Regions from separate parts of the Homo sapiens genome. Here regions 2 and 3 are each linked to region 1. Evidence: promoter capture Hi-C in 16 types of primary human blood cells and fetal thymus (Javierre and others, 2016). All regions are on one chromosome and are shown on one strand. Each heading gives the region's core, a stretch centred on a gene start or on the middle of the fragment in contact. The rest is flanking DNA. Distances are from core to core; before and after follow the strand shown.

Evidence for each region. The method cuts DNA at HindIII sites, captures the fragments that hold promoters and counts their contacts. A CHiCAGO score of 5 or more calls a contact.
Region 2: a contact is called between a fragment that was not itself captured here and the fragment with the promoter of REPS1 in region 1, in 1 of 17 cell types (total CD8 T cells). The highest score is 5.3, in total CD8 T cells.
Region 3: a contact is called between a fragment that was not itself captured here and the fragment with the promoter of REPS1 in region 1, in 5 of 17 cell types (non-activated CD4 T cells, activated CD4 T cells, total B cells and 2 more). The highest score is 6.4, in non-activated CD4 T cells.

Annotation. Positions count from the first base shown.
Region 1 is chr6:138,986,454-138,990,707 of GRCh38, forward strand. REPS1 (RALBP1 associated Eps domain containing 1) reads right to left here and starts at 1,800. Exons shown (of 20, transcript NM_001286611.2): 1 at 1,077-1,800. The coding sequence starts at 1,229. RefSeq lists silencers at 1,302-1,601, 1,792-2,031. The HindIII fragment of the contact is 2,634 bases long and covers 193-2,826 here.
Region 2 is chr6:139,259,773-139,263,893 of GRCh38, forward strand. TXLNB (taxilin beta) reads right to left here. Exons shown (of 10, transcript NM_153235.4): 5 at 2,807-3,001; 6 at 546-665. Among named protein-coding and RNA genes, the nearest start is that of TXLNB, 30 kb to the right of the region's middle. RefSeq lists an enhancer at 2,436-3,635. The HindIII fragment of the contact is 2,843 bases long and covers 692-3,534 here.
Region 3 is chr6:139,275,569-139,279,973 of GRCh38, forward strand. It overlaps TXLNB (taxilin beta), which reads right to left. Exons shown (of 10, transcript NM_153235.4): 3 at 1,262-1,353. The region is part of intron 2 of LOC102723690 (a long non-coding RNA gene); the gene reads left to right. Among named protein-coding and RNA genes, the nearest start is that of TXLNB, 14 kb to the right of the region's middle. The HindIII fragment of the contact is 2,399 bases long and covers 1,822-4,220 here.

The sequences.
Region 1 (4,254 bases), core at 550-3,049:
TGAACATACTTATGCTTGAAAATGGAAAGTGCCTGACCCAAAGTCACACTGCTGGTTAACAGCAGAGTAGGGTCAAGGACCCAGCCTTCAAAACCCTGGTCCAATGCTTTGCAGTCCACTACATACACCTATACATGTGGCTTTAAATTTTGGAGATGTGGATAACTAGCTTGGATCAATATAAAAGATGAAAGCTTAAAACCTGTTCCTAACATACTGTTTAGACAGACTCCTACTAGCAGCTATGAATCATTAAACAGAGTAGCATTAATGCTCACCACATACATTAGATAAGAACTTCTAGGAAGTCCTCTGTTTCAAAAGCAGATATGATAAAAAAAGGCTTTAAACCTACAGGGTTTGCTCCTCCAGGGCTTCAGATTAGGGCAAATAACGCACTTCTGCCTACCAGCTGTTCAATACTCATCTCCCAACCCAAATCCACAAGTTCCACAAATGCTTTCGAATGCCTGTTGAAAAACATTGTTCAGTCTCATCACATACACACGTTCTACAGATAATTACAACTTCTTGTATGCCTACTTGTAAAACTACTAAGTAGTTCACATTTTAAAAAATTTCCCTAAGAATTTTGCTTCCTTTAAAAAAACTGCTTCTTCGATTCCTAAATCTATAGAACTCACTTTATCACGTCTTCTCGGTTAATCCAAGAATTAAAAAAACCATTTTGCCCATACTGATAACTTTACTACTCTGCAGGATCCGAAAAGCTCTCTATATGCCAGGTTCTAGGATTCACACACATTAACAACCTAAGATCCTTCAAGTGAGATAGCTCTTGCAGTACAGAGCACAGATTCTCAGGGTCGTGGGGGATACCGGCTGAGGCTCTTCAGACCCCCACCACAGGAGTTCCGTCCTCTAAGGGCAACCCCCTCCCCCTTGGCCGCGGCGCGAGTCCAGGCCTCCCGGGCACCTGCGGCCCCTGCCCGCTGCGGGGACCCCCCGAGGAACCAGCCCCCCGCCGGGCCCCAAGGAATCGGCGCCCACTCCCACTCCTGGAGGCCAGTGACTGCAGGCCTAAGCCGCCCGCCGGCCCCGGGACGCGACGTTACCTGTAGGACCACGTCGTTCGGCAGCTGCGCGGCCCGGAACAGCTCCAGCACCCGCCCGTTGACCACCACCTTCTTGGTGCTCTCAATGTCGCAGTAGGAGAAGAGATCTGAATAGTATTTCTGCTCCGCATCGCTCAGCGTTAAGCCTTCCATCTTCGCCTCCGGCTCACGGCCGCCCCGCCCCGCATGCACTACTCGGGGCCCGGCCCCAGGAACCTGGGCCGGCAGGGGCTGCGCGTGGCCCGGCCTCCTGCTAGCTTCCCGAAAACGCCGGCCCCGGCCTCACACGCGCCAGGTGCGCCCGAGCAACAGGGCCCGGAGGTCGCGAGGAGGGGGCCCGGCTGCGCTCGCCGCGCCGCTGCCTGCGAGGCCCGGCGCGCGGCTGCGGCTGCGGCTGCGACTACGGCTCCGGCTCCGGCTCCGGCTCCGGCCGCGGGGAGGGTGCAGAGAAAGAGGCGGGGGCCGCGGAGGCGCGAGGCACTGGCGGACTCCGCCCCCGCCGCGGGTTCGAGTCTCCCCGGCTCCCTGCCGATTCCCCCAGACTTCCCGCCTCGGCTTCCCCTTCCGTCCACGCCTCCGGAGCGGCAGCGCTTCCCGGAAAGTTGTGGGGCTTCGAACCTAAAGTTTCGGGGGATCTGGGCTGAGCGTGGCCGCCGCTCCGCCTCCCTCCGCCGCCATTTACAGTGCCCCGGCCCGGCCCCGACGCGCCCGCACCAACAGTGACAGCGGCGGCCGCGCTCCAGACCCGGATGTGAGGCCGGGAGGAGAGAGCGCGAGAGGGAGAGAGAAACACCCACCGGGCTGGCTTGGCCGCTCCCGGGAGAGGGAGGAGGCCGCAGCGCCCCCTGGTGGCCGGCGCCCGGCGGCGGGATGACCGAGCCGCCCTCTGCGCGGAGATCTCAGCAGCAAGACCCCCGGAAAGGGGGGTGCAGTGGGAAACAGCCGGCAGCTCATTAAGACCGAGATAACTAAGATCCGGGTTGCAGTTTTTATGTTTCGCAGTTTCTGGTCCTAAGCGTCTGAATAATTGGATTGAAAGGGGAGCCTTGTTCAGGTTATTATCATTCTATCTGTACCTTTTCGGTACAGATGAAGATAAATGCAGTATTTCCATCTGTTCTGAAGGGCTATGAACATCCGGGCTATGAACATCCTGGCTATCCGGGAAGCCTCCACGTAGACACCAACATTGAGGCTTCATCTCACTCGTGCTTCAAGCCATGTTTACCTGAGAAACAAAATGTGCTGAATAGAGGGGAAAACTGGCAAAGTTGTCCTCTTTGTTCACCAGGTCATTCCGGTCACTGGGAACTTAATACTCTACATTTATACCTTCAACTCTATCAACTCATGTAGGCCCGGGGCTGCCCACAGGGGCTGCCTTCCGTATTTTCTCCTTTATGAAAATCATGGAGTGGCGCTCTTTTAATCTGCACCTGTCCCAGAGAGGGGATTCTTCAGCTATTTCAAGTAGAATATCTTAAGAATTTATACTTAGCAAATATAAAATACTTCAAAGACGGGAGCTAAGGCAGAATTACCCAGAGTTCTGGTTTTTATTTTGTCTTCTACAAGTTGTTTCCCAGAGTGCGGATCCTATAAATGACACATATGAGGAAATTATTACAGGTTCCCAGTCATTTATCTGTAATTGCAAAATTCAAAGCGCACTGAAAACCCAAAGACTTTTTTTTGTAACCCTTTGGAAGTAAAACCTGCCCTGCCTCATTTGGAGGCAAAATCTAAACTAAGCTTGCATGAAGCTATTTCTAGCCTTTATGGATCCCACTTAGTGTCAATATTTACTCATTTCACTCCAGGTCTTTGTAGAATGTTAATATGTACACAGTCACAGGCATTCTATTATCTTTCTATTTTTTAAGAAAGATAAGGGATTTTAGACCTGTCAATGTCTTCTGACTTGACTAGTAGTATTTGATAAAGGTAAGTATATACTATCCATTAAGCTTATTTCCCATCTCTAAGACTTTCAGTTTGCTACAGCAGCCCCTCATGTGTCCTTTCAGGGCACCTGCAGCAAGTGATCAGACCCCCCCCAGACAGCTGCCTTCCAAAGGTGTAAACAGAAAGAGCACAATGGGGTAGGGATTGGCTCACAATTGTCTTTGCATCTTTTTCTCTGCCACCTCTCCTAGGCCTTGCAGCTCTTGTCGGCCCCAGGGCCTTTGTTCCTGCCATCTAAAATAGTCCTTCCACAAACCATGGCATGGCGTATTCTCTCATATGGTTTCAGGTCCCTGCTCATATGTCACCTCCTCAGAGCAGCCTTCCTGCAACAGCTGCTGTAAAATAATCCCACCATGCACTATCCCCTTATCTGAATTCCTTTTTTTTCTCTTTTGAGACAGAGTCTCCCACTGTCACCCAGGCTGGAGTGCAGTGGCATAATCTTGGCTCACTGTAGCTTCGACCTCCCAGGCTCAGGTGATTCTCCCACCTCAGCCTCCCAGGTAGCTGGGACCACAGGCCCAGGCCACCATGCCCACCTAAATTTTGTGTATGTGGCTTTTGTAGAGACAGAGTTTTGCCATGTTACCCAGGCTGGTCTCAAACTCTTGGGCTCACCCACCTCAGCCTCCCAAAGCGCTGGGATTACAGGCATGAGCCACTGCACCCAACCTGAATTCTTTTTCTTTATAACACTTTTCACTATCTGACATTACATATATAGCTGTTACATTTTTAACGGCTAATTATTGAATAATTACTAAGTTTCAGGCATTGTTCTAAAGCTTTACACTAATAACCACATTATTCACAACAACCCTATTAAGTGGTACTACTAGGTTTTTTTTTTTTTTTGACAGATTAGGAAACTGAGGCAAAATGGGTTAAGTATTGTGTAAGTCATGTTGCTATTAAATACCCGGATCTGGGATTCAAACTCCAGGCTGTCTCAACTCTAAAAATCACTACCCTATCTTGCCTGTCTAATTTCTTTGTTAAGTTTGTTATTAAGAAAATATTTCTTCACCAGGCATGGTGGCTTATGCCTGTAATCCCAGCACTTTGGGAGGCTGAGGTGGGTGGATTGCTTGAGCTAAGGAGTTCAAGACCAGGCTGGGTAACACGGTGAAACACCATCTCCACCAAAAATACAAAAATAGCCAGGCATGATGGTGTGCACCTGTGGTCCCAACTACTCGGGAGGCTGAGG
Region 2 (4,121 bases), core at 863-3,362, 270 kb after region 1:
ATAACAGGCACTTGAAAAATATGTGTGGAATAGATGAATGACTATTTTATGTAGAAAGTAGTGTAGACATAGTGCCTCAGACTGGGCTGGCTAATTTAGTTCTCCATAGAAGCTGGGGCTCTTTCTCCATCAGTCTAGTGCTCTTTGACCATTATAAAAACAACTTGCGTCCAGGCGCGATGGTTCACACCTGTAATCCCAGCACTTTGGGAGGCCGAGGAAGGCGGATCACCTGAGGTCAGGAGTTCAAGACCAGCCTGGCCAACATGGTGAAACCCTGTCTCTACTAAAAATACAAAACAAGTAGCCTGTTGTGGTAGTGGGCACCTGTAATCCCAGCTACTTGGGGAGGCAGGAGAATCGCTGGAATCCTGGAGGCTGAGGTTGCAGTGAGCTGAGATCACGCCACTGCATTTCAGCCTGAATGACAGAACGAGACTCTGTCTCAAATAAATAAATAAATAAATAAATACAAAACAACTTGCTCAGAGTGTCTCTGACACTGAGGTAGACCAGATATGCACAACGACTAAAATGATAAATACATATTCCTTTTCTCGTTTGTGTCGCTCCTCCGCTTCCTTCATCATTTCTTGGGCCTGCTCAAGCTTTGCATCCACCAGCTTCTGCTGCAGTTCTCTGTGTTTAAATATTTTGTCCAGATGCTAAGAAAAATAAAGTGTACATAGAAAGCTTGGTTTATTATTGGTGCTTAAAAATGCAAAGTAAAATAATTCACATTAATACACATTCCCCAGGTTTTAAGATTTAAAAGAAGAGAGGGATAAATGCATTGGCATCACTTACAGCTTTATAATAAAGCTGTAAATTGGTGAACCCCTCCCCCTGACTTTGCACCACACACACAAAGCTAGCTATAAAAGGTAGAGGCACCAGAGTTCAGCAGTGTCAATGCCAAAAGATCCATACAATATTTTTCTACGTTTGGTAACTATTAGATATGATGCTATTTATTATGCTAGACAGCACAGACAATGATGTATCAGTATACAATATACAGGGGCTACAGTTGTATCATTTGGTATTTTGGCTCTTTCTGTGAATATAAAACCACTTTTAATTGCAACACTTGTGCAATTTATCATGATGAATTCTCTGCATTCTTGCCTCTGGCGTTGTGAGAAAGCCTTGGGGTGCCAGCATGTGGTCCGAGGTCTGGGAGTGAGGCCTGAGCCCCCCTGAATTCTACTCTGTTGCTCTGGTGGAGATGACAAGGCCAAGGGTCATAGAGAAATTGAGTCGCAAATGTGCAGAGCTCGCCACACCTTTTGACCTCTGGACTAGTTTGGTCAAGAGAAACTTCCAACTCTACCTCAGGATGGATAAATTCCTGGTCACTGGGAGGTCCAATCAGAAACAGGACATGGAATTCTCCCCTTGGGCTTTACTTAGAACCAGTCCCAGGAATATACAACTAGCATAGCAGCCCATTCCCATCTGAGATCTCTCTGAAGAATATGGACATTTTCCTTTCACTCCTTCCTATCTTCTTTAGTCTGAACCTCCATTCTGGAGCGGGATTGATCCTTATGACAAGATAAAATGGTAGCATGGCATTTTGGCTTACTATTAGGAGTTTCTTGATTTACCTAACCACCGCGACCATATGCTGTTGGCTCAGTTTTGTGCTTGATAAAATCTTAGCATGTTACCAACAGAGCCGCTTTGACTATGTTATGTTACATTTTAAAGCAGAGATTTAAAATTTGGGTGGGATAGGGAAAGGAATATGATGTGTCAAAATCCTGAGAGGGTATCTGGAATCTTAAAAATATATTAAATATTAAAATATAATTTGGGTATAACAAAAGACCTTGATCATCCCCCTAATATAACCTATTCAAAGTAAAAGGCTTTTGCCTCTTGTGACTGTGGGTAAGTGGTTTAATCTCTTAGCTTCTGCTTCTCATCTATAAGATATGGATAATATATTATTATCTAATGCATAAGATTGTTGAGACAATTAAATGCCATATGGTATGTAAAGTACAGCACTTAGCACATTGCCTGATACAAACTAACCACTGAATAAATGATATCATTATTATTACAATGATTACATTATTAATACTATTATTGGCCTGGTAGGGTACATAGAATACAGACTCTTTTTTTTTTTTTTTTTTTTGAGACGGAGTCTCACACTGTCGCCTGGGCTGGAGTGCAGTGGCGTGATCTCAGCTCACTGCAACCTCCACCTCCTGGGTTCAAGAGATTCTCCTGCCTCAGCCTCTCGAGTAGCTGGGATTACAGGCGCCCACCACCACGCCTGGCTAATTTTTTTTTGTATTTGTAGTAGAGACGGGATTTCACTATGTTGGCCAGGCTGCTCTCGAACTCCTGACCTCTTAATCCACCTGCCTTGGCCTCCCAAAGTGCTGGGATTACAGGCGTGAGCCACCGCGCCTGGCCAGAATACAGACTCTTAATTTAGATGACATGGCAATTCTTAAGAGGGAGTGCGTGAGTTATTTTTGGCTATAGAGAGAGGATTTTTAAAAGGCTGAGAAATATTATTTTCAAGGAAAACTGTGCCCACAGCCTATCACTTTCTATTTATTGCCTTTACTTTGTAGTGATGCCAGTTTTGAAGAAATCCCATATGACTTTCAGTCAGGTATTTTGTAAGACCATCTGTCTTCATTTTGGCTCGTCAAGGAAATCCAATCCTAAATATTAATCAGTTGAGAGGGCTGGCTGTAACTGTCTTATTAACCAAGTTCCCACCTTTAGCTCCCAGATCCGGATCTATGTACTGTTCTAAGTTGTTTGATGTGGTTCTCACCTCCTCTCTGAGCTCATACTGATCGATGATGCTTTTCAGCTTTTCTGCAAGCTCTGTGTTCTCCTGACAGAGCTTCATATTTCGCTCACTCTGCTGCTCGATCTGGCCCTGGATGTCCGTGAGGGTACTCTGGAAATGGCTTGTGATTTCCTTCCTTTTCTCTTCTTCCTCACGTGCCCGCTGAAGCGCCTCTTCCTGCGGATAAAAAGCAAAACATTTTGTTTAAATGCACCCCGGGTTTATAGAACTCAGCATTAGGTCACCTAAAGGAGATAAGTGTGCAGAGTAGGTGGGATGTTTTTTCTCAGTTCTCTAGAGCTAAAGCTGCTCAGCCCCAAAATAAATGTATGAGTAAAGGTTTCAGCTGTGAGTACATAGTTACTCAGAACAGGTGCTGTGAAGGCCTTGAATTTGTAGTCAGTGATGAATAGACTTGTTTTAAAGATGATGCGTCTCTTGCTGAGTGAATGAACTGCAGCGATTTCTAACAAACACACAGTCACACGATTTTGATCTCTTGGCTGTGGCCTGAAAAAAAGGCCACTTGAGTTTACTGATGGATGAGACAGATCATGTGTTTCTCTGGTTTGGTAAAGGGAGAACAATAGATCTTATATTTCCCTGTAAAAACCATGGCATATTAACCACATAATTATATTACCAAGTTTTGTAAATATAAGTGATCACAATAAAAATTTTCTATTTGTGAGAAAAAACTTTCATCAAAAAGCTTTAAAAAAGGAAACTAAGACAGCATAGCTCAATTACAGCCATTCAAGAATATAAAAGGGAATCTTTCCAAACATGCTGGATATTATTTTGTTTTTGAAAGAACAATCATTAAATGTGTCACATAGGGTAATTAAAATGTTCAATGTAAATTTTGAATCTGAAAGCAATATTAAGTTTCAAATCTTCTTTAACTCTAAAGTGAAACATCTAATTTTCCTTCTTCCGCTTTGTTAACATTGAAGAATTGCAAATTAACTTTTATATCATTTCTGTTCTCTTTTCTCCTAAATCAAAACTCTCCATTCATTGCTAGCCACTAACAATGAGCTCCAATTTCCTCCATATCTATATTGAGAATTGCTTTGCGATTGTTATTCTTTTTGAATAAAAGGGTTTAATTTTGCTACATCCTACCAAAGATAGAGACATTTACGTGGCTGACAAATGATACAGACATTTTAGGATTCCTTTCAGTTCTGATTAATTGTTAATATGAAAGCTTGCTTCGTTGTTGGCAAGTAAAATTATACTGAATTTGATTGCCTACCAAGTTCAAATTATGTAACAGGATTTTTTAAAAGAA
Region 3 (4,405 bases), core at 1,771-4,270, 290 kb after region 1:
GGGTTAAGCAAACAGCCAGTCACGCAGAGTTTCAGAATTTTTCTGGATCTACTGCATAATAGTTCAGCATAACAGGACACATTAGGTAGAAGAACAGAAAGATTACAGGACTAGATTCAGAGTGAAAAACAAAGAAAACAAGTCACTTACTAAAGTGTGCTCCATCAACAGGGATGAAGAGTTTGTGGGCCTGAAGCTTATTCAGTTTTGGAGGCCCTCTTCAAAATAAAAAATTAAAGAGAATTAGGCCCCGGGCCTCAAAGGGGCCCATGCAAGTGAGATGTCCTGAGGTTTAAGCTTCCTCAGCTGCAATGGTAAATCTACTGTTGGGGGCAGTTCAACTTACTGCCTGGAGGGATTTTTTGCTATATGTAGTCTCTTAAGTTGCATTCTCCTGTCACTGTTTCTCCAAAAGAAGTAAGTGAAAGAATTTTTGTTTTGCCTCAAACTACCTTTTATTTGCAACTACATGATTTCATGCAATTCTTCTAAACAACGACATAAAATAGATTTCCTTGTTTATAAATAACTTAAATATGCCCCATATAGTACATGCTGAAAGTTGCTAGAACAGTTCATCCACTCCTATAGTATTCTGGTATCCAACAGAGTTGATGCACATATATAAATGCCAAGTCCAATATTAAAAACTCAGGCAACTGACTAACTTTAATAAAGTTTCCCAAACTATGTCAATATACCTAAAAATGCGTATATGTACAAAAGAAAGATTATTCTCAATAACTTCTATAAAAATAAATTCAATTGTTTGTTCCATCTAACTTCACTACTATTAGTATGAATTTTTAGTGTATGGTAAGATTTATTTTACCTTTTTCTCAACATGACACCAACACAGTCAAAAGGAGCTAGTGAGGTGCTAACATGCGAGAATTAACCCAGTGATTCTGGTCACAATGCATTTCAGGTAGAGGTACCTATGTCACTGGGATTGGGTGATATGGTTTATTTTCATTCCCTGATTTAGATAACCAAATGGATCAGATAGAGATTCTGATGGGCATTCCTTCAAAAGAATTTTTTAAGAAGCAGAAATAAAGGAGAAGGCCACTGCCTAGCTTTACTAGAGAGAATGCCACATCTTAGCTGTGGGTCTCATAATCTGCAGGGTTAGCGCACAGACCTCAGATGTTGCTGTTTACAATTCATTCTCGGATTGGCAGGTGTTTGTTGTTCCTTGAAGCTAGAGGCACTGGGCTCACTAATCGTTCTGAGAAAAGAAGCTAATCCAAGATCTTACCAATTCAGCATACTTCTTGAATAAAAAATCAAACTTTTCTTCCGGTGTTTGCAACTTGTTCAGATTTTGCATTAGCAGGTTGGCTTCTTTGCCTTAAAAAAAAAAGACATGAAAAAAATAAGTGTTGAATTTACAGTCAGGTGATAAGGGCTGGAGTCTCAGATTGACCACTTGCTAATTATTCCCAACCTTGGCTAAGCCATTCATCTTATCAGATGTAATTTTCTTTCCTATAGAAATGATGACACCTACCTTACAGAGTGAACATTAGTTGGGAAGTTTGTGAATGTGTGGTACGGTGTGAGGTTCATGGCAGACTCTCAATAAATGTTTGCTATAACAGAAGTCTCCCAGTTTTCATCACAAGAATCCGTTCTTATTTCTCCTCCCTGTATTCTTCAGAATCAAAAGATTTTATACATCAAAAATACTTTCTGAAAGAATACGTCACCCGTTTTCCCACTTGAATTAACAAAAAGGAAGCAAAACAGCCAATCAAAATTTCCGACTAGTATGAAACAGCAACACGGAGTTGCTGGGATTCCAGCCAGAAGCAGAGAAGCTTGATGAAGTAGCCTGCCCGTTTTTTCCCCTGTGTTTTTTGTTCTTTTGGTACTTCTTTTCCCTCTTTTAGGGGGAACCAAGTTTCTCTTTTTTGTACATAAACCCATTCCCTGGCGTTGGAGTGGGAATAACTCTGATCCTGTTTCCTACCAAATAGAATAAAATCATTATAGAAGGAAAACCAAGTAAAGACATGGAGAGCCTTTCCACAAGCCTTTTTCTGTCTCTGTGATAATGGACACAGCCTTCTCTGGCCTTCCTTTCCCCCACCTAGGCCTTAATATCCGTTGGCAGTTTCATTTTGTTTCCAGTTGGAGTTTATGCTACACTAAAAAAAAATTAACCCTGTTAAATAATCATGAAAGGGTGGGGCATTTTTCCCATCCCTACCTATCTATGAAAACCACTCTGTTTAATCAGAATAGGGTGGTCAAGCCACACAACAAAGCCCACACTTCCTGACATAAATCTGCTTAAGAAAATTGACAACCTTTCCCCCAAGAACAGACATTTCCCCTTGGCTAGAGTACTTGCTTTCATCTTGGAGAGGCATATATGTCATGAAATTAGGATTGCCAGATGAAATATAGGACATGGGGCATATTTGTACTAAAAAATGATTCGTTGTTTACCTGAAATTCTAATTTTTCTGGACATCCTGTATTTTCCTTTGCTAAACCTGGCAACTTTACATGGAATCAAGGAATTTTAGGTCTAGAAGGAATTTCAAAGAGCATCCAGACTAACCGGTTAATTTTATGCATTTTAGTATTTAAGGCCCAGAAAAGTCCAAAGTTACATGATTAGTGCTGGCAGAGAGAAGGCTTGAATCCAAGGCTAGCCTACTTGTTCTAAGTCACTCCACTCTCATGTGGAATTCTGATGCTAGAGAGACCTAGAGAAATAGAAGGCAACTTTTTTTTTAAATGACCTCATTCCCAACAGTTAGTTTTGTCTATCTTTGCCTAGTGAGTCAGTTCAGATTAGCCTAAAACAGGGGAAGGTGGGTGTGAGTAGGGTCCCTCCCAGCTCTCCAATTATGGCCTGTGGCATTTGCAGCTGATAATCACTGACGCCTCGCCCCTGCCAGGCATGTGCTTTGGGTTATCCCTCTACTGACAGGGATGGATTTGCATTGGTCAGGCCATCCCTTCACCTTTGTCTTCAGTCCAGGGAAGGTGCCCACATGAAGACTACAATCTCAAGTTAGAGTGTCATCTATTAAAGTCAAGAGACTACTCTTGATCATTCTTGGCCCAGGATGCAACACAGTGTTTGGCCCATGGCAAGTGCTCAGTAAATGATGATAATAATAGAATAAAACAAAGCTGGCCAGGCACGGTGGCTCACGCCTGTAATCCCAACACTTTGGGAGGCTAAGGCGGGCGGATCACGAGGTCAGGAGATCAAGACCATCCTGGCCAACATGGTGAAACCCCATCTCTACTAAAATACAAAAACTTAGCTAGGCTTGGTGGTACATGCCTGTAGTCCCAGCTACTCGGGAGGCTGAGGCAGGGGAATCACTTGAACCCAGGAGGCAGAGATTGCAGTGAGCTGAGATTGCACCACTGCACTCCACTGCAAAAAACAAACGAACAAATAAAAAAATCAAAGCCAACTAGCTCAAACTCGTATCATGTGAATCAAATAAACACTGTCATGAAAACAATTTTTTGTGACCAACTAGAGGAAAAACAGGTCTTACTCTCACCTGTGATGTTTTATGTATCCTGGAATACCTCTCAGTGTGTGTACCGACATGTGAAACCATTACCTGTCTTGTTTGGGAGAGATAGAAATGAGTGAGTCCAAAGGTTCTTGCTTTCTTCCCACATTAAGTATCTTCTCCCCTTTGGTTTTATTTTCTGTGACTGTGAGAAGAGGTTTCTTTTTGGTTTTGTTTGTTTTGTTTTTTACTCTTCACACTCACTGAGGTCTCTTTCTGCTCTACTGTGTTATTTTGTATAGAAGGTTAACATCCAGGTGCATCAATATGCCTTCAAAAATTATTCTTCCCTTCAACAAAAAATCCAGGAAACAGAATTTCTATTTGTAAGTCTCACAGGAAAAGCACTAAAACTGGAGATTAATTAAAAAAAATCCAGGAAACTGGAGATGGGCATGTGCAGAATTCATAAATTTACAACATCACTGACCTCAGTTTTTAAACTTCCATTGGTGTTGTGGGACTAGGGTGCTATGTGAAGTAATCATGGAGGAGGGGAGTAGACAGAGACTTGCTCATCATCTACAAAAGGCTATCATTACATCTCCATGGAAATAGGGTCATTTGGTGACAGTGTCAAACAAAAGAGGAAAAACTGACTTTATTCAGGGACGCTTTATCAGGAAGGAATCACCTGCCTTCTCCCTAATGTGTTCTTCCAAAGCAAGCTTCATTTCTTCCTCATGAAAGCTAGGAAGGCATGTGGGCATGTAGCCACCACACTGCGAAATGCTCAGCGTGGTAGGAAGTCTACATGAAAGTGGAACCACCTGTGTAGCAGACACAGCGCTGTTGCATAAGGCTGTGGTCACTGGCACAGTTTTATTGGAAGGTGGAGAAATTATTTTTAC